Regions from separate parts of the Homo sapiens genome. Here all the other regions are linked to region 2. The links are contacts of gene promoters, found by promoter capture Hi-C in blood cells and fetal thymus (Javierre and others, 2016). All regions are on one chromosome and are shown on one strand. The core of a region is centred on a gene start or on the middle of the fragment in contact, and the rest is flanking DNA. Distances in the headings are between cores, read along the strand shown.

Evidence for each region. Contacts are between HindIII fragments. The CHiCAGO score rates a contact against its expected background, and 5 or more counts as called.
Region 1: a fragment that was not itself captured here is called in contact with the fragment with the promoter of FMO4 in region 2 in 1 of 17 cell types (total B cells); the score reaches 5.2 in total B cells.
Region 3: a contact is called between a fragment that was not itself captured here and the fragment with the promoter of FMO4 in region 2, in 3 of 17 cell types (naive B cells, total CD8 T cells and naive CD8 T cells). The highest score is 8.7, in naive B cells.
Region 4: a fragment that was not itself captured here is called in contact with the fragment with the promoter of FMO4 in region 2 in 4 of 17 cell types (naive B cells, total B cells, naive CD4 T cells and 1 more); the score reaches 10.1 in naive B cells.

Annotation. Positions count from the first base shown.
Region 1 is chr1:170,063,208-170,065,907 of GRCh38, reverse strand. The region is part of intron 1 of KIFAP3 (kinesin associated protein 3); the gene reads left to right. Among named protein-coding and RNA genes, the nearest start is that of KIFAP3, 10 kb to the left of the region's middle. The HindIII fragment of the contact is 4,323 bases long and covers 1-2,700 here.
Region 2 is chr1:171,312,748-171,315,573 of GRCh38, reverse strand. It overlaps FMO4 (flavin containing dimethylaniline monoxygenase 4), which reads right to left and starts at 1,391. Exons shown (of 10, transcript NM_002022.3): 1 at 1,161-1,391. The HindIII fragment of the contact is 2,730 bases long and covers 87-2,816 here.
Region 3 is chr1:169,897,917-169,900,687 of GRCh38, reverse strand. No RefSeq gene overlaps it. Among named protein-coding and RNA genes, the nearest start is that of SCYL3, 5.4 kb to the right of the region's middle. The HindIII fragment of the contact is 5,358 bases long and covers 1-2,771 here.
Region 4 is chr1:169,920,426-169,923,125 of GRCh38, reverse strand. It overlaps KIFAP3 (kinesin associated protein 3), which reads left to right. Exons shown (of 20, transcript NM_014970.4): 20 at 1,345-1,797. The coding sequence ends at 1,450. Among named protein-coding and RNA genes, the nearest start is that of SCYL3, 28 kb to the right of the region's middle. The HindIII fragment of the contact is 2,125 bases long and covers 367-2,491 here.

The DNA of each region.
Region 1 (2,700 bases), core at 89-2,588, 1.2 Mb after region 2:
AAATGATCCAAAACAATAATGTCCAATAGAACTTTCTTCCCTGATGGAAATGACTTACAGCTGCATCATCAAATACATAGCCACTGGCTGTATGGCTAATGAACACTTTGAACGTGGTTAGTACAGCTAAGGAATTGCATTTTTAATTATTTTTAAAATGTAATGTATTTAAATTTAATTTTAAATAGACCCATGTAGCTAGTGACTATTGTATCAGACAGCATAGGTTTTAATGTTCCAATGGAAAGGCAGAGATTACCAATATTTCTTTTTTTTTTTTTTTTTTTTTTTTTTGAGGTGGAGTCTTGCTCTGTCGCCCAGGCTGGAGGGCAGTGGCATGATCTTGGCTCACTGCAAGCTCCGCCTCCCGGGTTCACGCCATTCTCCTGCCTCAGCCTCCCAAGTAGCTGGGACTACAGGTGCCCGCCACCATGCCCAGCTAATTTTTTGTATTTTTTAGTAGAGACAGGGTTTCACCATGTTAGCCAGGATGGTCTCGATCTCCTGACCTCATGATCCACCCACCTCGGCTTCCCAAAATGCTGGGATTACAGGCGTGAGCCACTGCGCCCGGCCACCAATATTTCTTTTATAAAGAAAAAAGAAAAGCAAGACCCAACTATCTGTCATCCCCAAAAAATATACTTTTAAGTATGGACATGGTAAGTTAATGGTAAATGGGTGCAATCAAACAGTAAGCATAAGAATGCTAAAATGACCATATTAATGTCAGATAAAATAGGCTTTAAGAAAACGTATACTGTAAAAACTACAGAGGAGTATTTCATACTGATAAAATCTGCTACATCCAGACAGTTTTAAAGTCAAATTCTAACAAAATTTTTGGGAAACAGATGCTTCCAATTATGTACAACTCTTCCAAGAAGTCTAGAAAAAAAAGGATACTCCTCAACTAATTTATATTAAGATTTTAGAATAATCTCCATATGAAAGTCAGAAAAAGGACATTAGAAAGGAAAATTGCAGGCTGAATGAGCAAGGATGCAAATTTAATCTAACAGTGCTTTAAGACAGCATTAACAAGTTGTGCTTATTCTAAGAATATGAGTATGGTTTTATGTATTTAATGAATTTGATGTAGTATATTTATGAATTAAAGAAGAACAATACATGATCCTCCAATGGATGCAGAAAAACATTTGATGACATTCACTACACATTCATGATTTAAGGAAAAAACTAAAGCCATAAATAAAAGGGAATTATGATATAAACATATTAAATGAGGAAACTAGCCAGGTGTGTTGGCTCATGCCTGTCATCCCAGCACTTTGGGAGGCTGAGGCTGGTGGATCGCTTGAGCCCAGGAGTTCAAGACTAGCCTGGGCAATATGTTGAAACCCCATCTCTATAAAAAATACAAAACTTAGCTGGGCATGGTGGTGCATGCCTGTAGTCCCAGCTACTTGGAAGGTGGAGGTGGGAGGATTGCCTGAGCCTGGGAGGCAAGGCTGCAGTGAGCTGTGATCACACCACTGCACTTCAGCCTAGGTGACAAGAGTGAGACCCTTTCTCAAAAAATAAAGTAACATCAGTAAATGAGGAAACTTTAGAAACATTTCCCTTAACATTAAGGATGATCCAAGGATACCTATGTAACCACCTCAACATTTCACCAGGAGTCCTAAACAGGTAGTAAGATAAGAAATAGAAAAGGTATAAAGATAGGAAGAGAAGAAATGAAACTGATATTATTCACAAATTATATATTAGTTTGTAGAGAAAACCTAAAATAATGTTCAAGCTATTGGCATTAATATCAAGGTATTAAGCAACAGTTGCTGGATGTAACATCTATATACCTCCCACTCCCAAATTGAATTTTGATATAGTTGGTTAAATATTGTTAGCAAAAAAGTTATTTACAAATGCAAATAACAATATAAGGTACTTGGGAATAAATCTAATAATAAATGATGGGCATCACCTTTCTAAAGAAATTTATATCATTTCATTAAAAGAAAATTAAATCTTAAAAGTAGATTTATCATTTTCATGGATAGATGCCTTAATCTGAAAATTCATTATGTCAGTCATTATCCCAAAAGGTATTTTACTGAATTTGAAACACAATTTTAAATTTTTAAGTGGACAGGGAAAGGTCCCGCAATACTGAGAAAAATATGGAAGAGCCAGGTTGGGAACACTTCCCTCAGGTATCGATGTAAAAATAGCTCAGTAAACCAACTGAATAAAATGAAAAGCCTAGAAATAGACACACATGGGTGTGTCTATGGGTTATTCTTGCCCACTACAGAGAAAAAAACAACTCACTGTGACAGCGGTATTGCAGTAGAGTAAGAGTTTAATAATTGCAGGGCTAGCCAAGCAGCAGGGTGGGAGTGTTACTCATACAAGCCTCCCCCAAAAGTTGGAAGTTAGGGTTTTTCAAGGACAGTTTGGAGGGCAGAGGGCTAGGAAATGGGAGACACTGATTGATTGACTTGGGGATGATATTATAGCAGGTTTAGCTATCTTCTTGTGCTGAGTCAGTTCCTGGGTGGGGATCACAGAACCAGTTGAATTAGTTCAGTGGTGTGAGTCACAGGTCCAGGTGGAGTCAGTCAGTGTCCAGAATACAAAAGTCTGAAAAATATCTCAAAGACTAATCTTAGGTTTTGACAATAGTGTTGTTATCTATCAGAGCAATTAGGGAAGATACAAATCTTGTGACCTCTG
Region 2 (2,826 bases), core at 142-2,641:
ACACAATTCTCAATTTCTCTGAGCCAGTGCTTCCACATTTGTAAAACAGAGGGTTCAAGTGGCTTTCTCTTTGTTTCCTTCAAGCTTGAAAGGACTGTTCTTATGTCTGAAAACCAAGTAATTGGTGCACAAAAAAAAAAAGATATGAATTCAAAGGTAGGCGAGAATACTGCAGGCTTGAAGGATTGGGAGAACGTGTGTGCAAACTCTGCAAACTATAAAGTGGACTTCATAAGGTACTTGGTTGCTCAAAGGTGCTTATATTTATTTATTTATTTATTTGAGTTGGAGTCTCACTCTGTCTTCCAGGCTGGAATGCAGTGGCACAATTTCGGCTCACTGCAACCTCCACCTCCTGGGTTCAAGTGATTCTCCTGCCTCAGCCTCCTGAGTAGCTGAGACTACAGGCAGGCGGCACCACGCCTGGATAATTTTTGTATTTTTAGTAGAGACGGGGTTTCACCATGTTGGTCAGGCTGGTCTCAAACTCCTGATCTCAAGTGGTCTGCCCTCCTCGGCTTTCCAAAGTGCTGGGATTACAGGCGTGAGCCACCGTGCCAGCCATAGGTTGCTTATATTTAGTCCCTTGGCAGAAAGGAGACCTGACCTATTGAACTAGACCTTTGTACAACGGGAAAACCCCACCCTATACCTGACTGACCAGCAAATGTAGGAATCCTTTATGAGACATGGAGAGACTTGGGTGATTTGCAAATCATGTAATCAATTATGATTTCTTTGAATTTGAAATTTGATCATTTTATGTTTCTTATCATCATCCTACCATGCTCTTGCTTTGTTACAGTATTTTTTTCCCACGCCATCTATGGGGTATTTGTTTCCCAATGGCTGGCATTTCCATCTCATTCATAAGATGAAATCAGAGGTCACTGGAGTCACTGAAAGTCTCATGATTCTGTTTATCTCACTGACACTTTCCTTTTGGATGGTTCTGTCCACAACATAACTTTGTTTCCTTACAACTTCCCTTTGCTTCCTGACTCTCTCCTTAATTCTCTTGCTTTAGCCCTAGTCAAGAGACCCCAAAAGAAGATAATCACATTCATTCTTAAGGAACACACTCCAAGAAAAACATTCATCTTTTGTGAAAGCAGTTTCTGGATCATTTCCCCATTAAAAAAAAAATCCAGGACACTTACCTTGGTTAGCATAGAGCAGATTCTTTGACTTAAATTATTTCTCAAAGTCAAGGAAAGTGTTTGTCTTTTTTTTTTAAAAAAGCTCAAAACCCAAATTCTTTTTTCTGAAAGAAAAATAAATGGAAAGATGACTTTTGTAAAAGTGCCCTCAGTTTAAAACAAAAGCCATTCGTCTTTTCTGTTATGCTAGTGACAGCAGAAAGTATACAGACTAAGGAAAAAAAGTTGTGTAAGAGGCAAGCGTGATACTTCCGTGATCTTAAGGGAGGGCGGAATGGTGAGTTAGAATACAGCTGTTGGATTGGCAGAACATAAACGCTTCCTGCCCCTTTACCCCACCCTCCTCAACGTCATAGTTCTGGCAAAGCCCTAAAGCTATGGGAAGCACATGATAGCGTCGCTTTTGCCATTATAGTCTGTAGAGGGCGCCAAATCACCCCAAATTACAGCTTTCTCAGCGAAACAGGAGTTCTACTTTTGGAAACAAACTTCTACACCCTGACTCTTGCTTGGATTACCATAGGAGCTGTCCAAAGGAGAAAGTTATTTAGATGACCATTACCTCATCAAGTTCTTTCATGCTTGGAGTTCTCCAACCCCAGAAATGTGATTTTAAAGTTCAGGACTTACAAGGAATTTAAGCTGTTTTGTCCTTCAGATTGGATCAGCAGAGGGAGCTGGTGAAATGTGTTTGAGAAAGCATAAAGCTATTTTTAGATATTAACCTAGGGCACAAGAAAGGTAATAATTATAGAAGCTGTGGCAGAAATAGAAAACTTAACTGTTTTTCCTTCCACTGTGTGCTTGTAAGATAATATAACAGACCATCTTTAGGACTTGTGTTTAGGGACATTTTCCAACATGGTTCACTGAACAATTTCTAAACCACATTTGCTTGTGACTACACATGCAAATGCCTACAGGAGTGAGGAGGGTAACATACACGAGGAAAGTGGGCCAGATATGATCTGACTGGAAAGTACTTTCTCTGTCTATTCAGTTCAGCTAAATGTTGCTATTTGAGAAAATGAGCCCAATATGGCAAGGCCTTAGGTTCTTTTCAGTAAAAGCTGCAAATACAGATTTTAATATAAAATCTTCTGTTGGCAGCAAATATTTTCTTTTGAAAAATATCATGGAATATTATGCAGCCATAAAAAGAAATAAGATCATGTCCTTTGCAGGGACATGGATGAAGCTGGAAGCCATCATCCTCAGCAAACTAACACAGGAACAGAAAACCAAACACTGCATGTTCTCACTCATAAGTGGGAGTTGAACAATGAGAACACATGGACACAGAGAGGGGAATGTTGTAGGGCCTGTTGTAGGGTAGGGGGTGAGGAGAGGGAACTTAGAGGAGAACAGGTCAATAGGTGCAGCAAATCACCATGGCACACGTGTACCTATGCAACAAACCTGCACGTTCTGCACATGCATCCCACTTTTTTTTAGAAGAAATAAAGAAAAAAATTTAAAAAAAGAAAAAAAAATATTGTGTCCAGAGTTAGTTCCTTCCGGTGGGTTCCTGGTCTCCCTGACTTCAAGAATGGAGCTGCGGACCTTTGTGGTGAGTGTTACAGTTCTTAAAAGATGGCACAGACCCAAAGAGTGAGCAGCAGCAAGATTTATTGTGAAGAGCGAAAGAACAAAGCTTCCACAGAGT
Region 3 (2,771 bases), core at 35-2,534, 1.4 Mb after region 2:
CTCTGCCCCTAAAAAGGTAATAAAGAAGTAGTAAAATAACCTAGTCAATAGGAATTTAATCCAGAATTGCATGGGAAGAAAGCCACAGTAACCTCTTTTGCCTATTTTAAAGTTTCAGATAATTGTTTTCTCTCAAAACCAAAAGCCATAATACATAAGCAAATTGTCATATTTCATCAAATATATGATGCCATCACATTTAGGAAGCATCAATATATTTGGTACCACTAAGAAAAAATTATTGACAAATTATATTATGCCATTTGTGGTAAAATGCATTCTGACCTTCAGGGATGTTAAAATGTGAAAAACTATAGTTTTTACAATCTAGAAAATACAGTATATGGCTGTTTATAAGACGGTCAGTGCTATGGAGGGAAAAAGCAAAAGAAAACAGGATAGGAAGCACCAGGAGTGTAGCAGGAAGGAAGGTAAACGTTGTAGAATTAGATAGGGTGGATCAGGACAGACTTCATTGAGAAGACGAGATCTGAACAAAAAATAGAAGTAACAGACTTAGTCAAATGGACATGTGGGAAAAGAGAATGACAGGAAAAGGAAGCGCTAGAGCAAAAGTCCTAAGGCAAGAGCTCACCTGGCATGCTGACAGGACAGCAAGGAGGCCACTGAGCATGGACCAGAGTTAGTGAGCAGGAGGATAGCAGTGAGGCCAAAGGAGGGAGGCCTTAGATCATTTAGGGCAGTTCTCAAACCTTCCTGCAAGGAAGGTGCCTGCAAATCACCTAAAGATCCTGTTAAAATGTAGATTCTGACTCGACAATCTAGCGTGAGGCCTCAGCTTTTGCATTTTTAACATGCTTCCAGAGGATGCTCATGTTGCCTTCAAATATTAATTAACCACCCCTACAGGATAGATCTAAGTTAGTACACATCTGTATCTCCCTGAAGGCTGAAGTATTTCAAAGAAGAGGTAGATATATAATGCACACATTGTTTGCCCCAAATCTTTCTCCCAGGAGTATGATTCCAAGATGATTCATGGCTCTTTGAAGTTGAGAAGCAATTCACACTTCAGAGGCTTTTAGCATCTGAAAGATTTCAATGAGAAGTCTATACTCCTGGGGCAGATACTACAAACACTTCAGCTATCTCTAACTCAGATCAATACTAGTGGCTTTAAGGATGTTTAAAAGTGAATTTTCATGGCCAAAATAAGTAATTTCAAGATGGACAGAATGAATAGAAATGTTGCCATGCCTTACATGATCAGAGTATGAGAATCTAGTGAGTCTAGCAATCTACACACTTTGGAAAGGTGCCCTAGATTTAGGATTTCAGACCAGCCCCATATGGAGAAGATTACAAGAAGATTTTGTCACCCAGCTCTAATGAGGATAGCTGAGTCTGCTATTAGAATACTGTCCCATCTTCCTGCAGTGGATGGACCTTTCATGCAAGATGCTATTCAAGCTCCTACACAAGGAAGTGGAACCTCACTGAGTTTGTATAACAGCTCTACTGCCTGTCTTTAAACCTTGCTAATAAACGTGTGAATGTGTAGAATCCCACCTCAGACTTGCTTTCATTCTCTCTTTGTAGTGGTAGCAAGGTTATGGTGGAACTTAGAAAACACATACTTCTCATTAGAGAAATCTTCCAATATCTATGCAAAGTTCCTAAAAACAACGAGAGAACAAAGTGGCTTAGGTCCAGTTCAGTTTTCTATAAGGTATCCACTACTTATGGATGCTATATGTATTTATCTGAAATGTGCCTGAAGGAGGGTTTGTCATTCATGCAAGTTTCCCCCTTTACACTTCCAGATTCTAATTGCAATTATGCAATTACACAAATTATTGAGGTAGAACATTAAATAGAAATCACTTGAATAACTTTTACTCTCTTTGGTTTTCAGGTAGAGCTTGTAAAAAAGTTAGTTCAAATCAAGTTGGAAAAAAATAATTAAGTTGGATGGCTAAGGCTTTTATAGAACCAGGAATATATCCAAGATACTTATAGTCTACTTGGGAATCTAAGTTAGAAACATGAAAAAGATTAATTAAAAAAACACCTAAAAGTCAAGCTGAATACCATTGACATGTTTTGATTTGAATTAAGAAGAGGATTGGTTGGAAGTAAAATTCAGGTTGATCCTTAAACAGTATGACAAGAAAAAATTATTTCTATTAAGAAAACAAACTATTTGTTTCTAACTGTCCCACCAGCCACATTCCAAGGACAGCGGATTCAGGTTGTTGGAGATTCTTTTCTTTCCTGGCCTTAGACATATTTAAAATGAGGACTGAGGAATCAGTGAGGGAATACAAGATTTCTATGCATAAGAAAGGCAGAAGGAGCTCAGAGAGCAGCTCCAGGGAACTGAGAACTGGAACCAGAGCTATAGAGGGCTCTGTGGGGTAAGGGCTGGGAGGCAGAGAGATGTAGGGAGGGTGCCTGGGACATGCAGTGTGCTCTCAGTAAATTCATTTGTGTGTTTAATATTTACTGAGTACCTAGTATGTTCTAGGCACTGTGTTATGTGCTAGAAATATGGCAGGAAAGAAAGAAATGAAGGAAGGAAGCCCTGTTTTCAGGGAGCTGATGTTCTAGCTGTGGGACAGAGATGCTGAACAAATATGTGCATTGGTGTTAAGCAAAATAAGGCAAAGTCAAAAGACAGGAAGAGGCAGGTAAGGTGCTGTTTTAGACAGTGTTTTCAGGGGAGCTGTCTCTGATAAATTGCATTCAAGTAGAATTTTCAAAATATAATTATAACTCTCATGCAAATATAAAATGAACACATTAGTTAA
Region 4 (2,700 bases), core at 180-2,679, 1.4 Mb after region 2:
CTAACCTGAAACTTGTATTTCAGAACTTCCATTCTCCTAAAGGGCAGAGTCACTGGACCAGTATGTGTTATATGTATTTTGGCTCTTTACATTTACTCTTTAGTTCCATCTTAATACACACAAGCACGCGTGCACACAAACACACACACGCATTCACACATTTATTTAAAACCTTAACATTTTAATAGTTACTTCTAAAGTGTGTCAACTTAATCTCACTCTGAGTGTGACAGGGAGTTAGTGCCTATGTGAATATATTTTTTCATCACATTCAGTTTTTGCTATTGAGGGAAAATTATCTTTCCATCTCATGTAGTGCAAACTTAAATCTTAAATCATTTAAATATGTTTTATTTTTCCAAAGCTTACATTTCTGCATTACAAATGGTGTCCATTGATTGGAAGTCAAGCTCACTAGCATTCACTGCATGAGCTATGCATGAGCATGTTAAGGCCACCATGTTCTGCCTGGCAAAATAAATACTTTATCATTTTCCTAAGTGTTGGATAATTCCCTGACCTTTAAAAAGGACTTTGGAGAACAGATTTTCCTCTAAATAATGTATTAATAGACCAACAAGTAATTTTTTTAAAATAATAATCATGAAGTTTAACATACTTCAAGCTATCTTTACAACTCTGAAGGTTATCTTTGGGTTTCTGTTATTCCCATAGAATAAGTTGAACCAAAATTTGTAATTGTCTTGCTGTCACTCAAAAGAAATAGATATGTTTTGTAATTGTTTGCATTGAGGAATCAGAGGAAGGATTTGCAGATCAAATCTGACTAATTTTCAAATTTTGTCAAATTCCTTATCTTGTTCTTTTAATCATAGGCTTATGGTATGATTTGGCCCTGCATGAGAGTTCACTGATATAACTCAAACACATGTTTTTACTAAAAGTGGAATTAGTCCTGTATCTTCATATGAAAAGACATTATAAACAGCAAAACTCACTTTACTACAGTTTTATTTTTATCATTCCCTAGCAATATATTACTGATCATTGCTAGCATGTAAAATCTTTTCATATTTTTGCTTAAGAGCCATATATAAGTAATTTATTAAATAAAACTTTTCTGATTTGATTCTTCCACTTTGTTTCAAATAGTACCTACTGACAGAGGTTTCCCATACTTTTAACACACATTGTTAGAAGTATTTTATTATATACACTTTTAATGGCTCTATTAACCTTAAAAAAAAAAGTTAATGATATCCACCTAAATCACTATCCCTGCTAGGAAGAGAATCTTGGTGGTATAAAAATGTAGGCCTCTTAATCTGCATTGTGGATGTGTGATGAAAAACATAGCTTATCATTCTTTTTTTTCTTTTTTAGCCTTGGAATGGATGGCTTTGGCCAACCAGTTGGCATTCTTGGACGCCCTGCCACAGCATATGGATTCCGCCCTGATGAACCTTACTACTATGGCTATGGATCTTGATAAAGTATCTGTTTCCATGTGTAATCTCAGCTTAGAAGAAATCTGTGTGGGTTGGGTTAATTTTGGATCTTTGCCTAATAATGCATGTTGATGTTATTGTGGGTCTGTGTTTGTTTTTATTTTTATATGTTGTTAGCTGCAGATTAACCCCAGCCCCTCTGTCTTCTGTTAAGTACAGTTGATACTGACATTGTTCACTCATCAAACCACATCTTGATGCTAAGTAACATTTCCCATGAGCCACAAAACTGAATGCTGAAAAGCTACTAGACTGGAAAACAAACACTGCATTATGTATGTTAAGTGACTAATTTAATTTCAATTAAAAAGCGTAAAGTGAAAATGAATAAGTGAAAGTCATGTGTTTATATTTCACACATTTCACTACGAATTACATGTTAATATAGGGTGCGCGTGAATTTTATTTTTTCTCCTTTTTTTCTGCTTGTAAACTCTTGAGTAATTTGTATAATATATGCTACCTTTAAAATTTATAAAAAGAACATCACCTTCATATTCCATGCCATGTGCCTGAAAGTTTCCTTCCCAAAGTTTATTAACTATGAGTTTTCAATTAATAATGGAACATATGTCATAAGTTATTTATGGTTATAGTCTCTTTGGTGGTTTTAATTCATATCTTCCTAGTTGTAATATAGAAATCCTAGGACAAGTAGTATACAAGACAAGCAGTGATACAAGATTAGCATTTGGCTTTTAACTTTTATTCTTCATAAATTTAGTATCTAAAGCATGGGAAAGCTAATTAAAAGTCGCATTAAGGAAAACTAAGGAACAGAATATTTCACTCACTTGGGTACCCAGTTCCCAATTGTTCACTTGTTCTTATAACGTACATTTAGATAGCAAGAAATGGAGAGACATTATATAATTCATAATGGGTTTTGAAAATAGTTCAGTGTTTTCATATTAAAAAAATGTTCAATTCTACTTGAAAAGCTGAGCAAAGAAATAACCATAATAATAACTATAATCAGAGATAGTTCCATGATCACCTGCTATGGGAGAAAATATGAAGCTTCAAAGGGAATACATAGATCAAAGATAAGACTTCTGTTCTTGAATTTAAAATCTCATTGATCTAACTACACTATTTATGTGGCTTAAATTACATTTTAAGCAGAAGATAACATTTGGAAAAGGCCTTTGAAATAACTCATTCCATCTACTTATTTAAGAAACCAATCACATAAAAAATTTAAATGTAATCAACAGATATTTTCCTGACT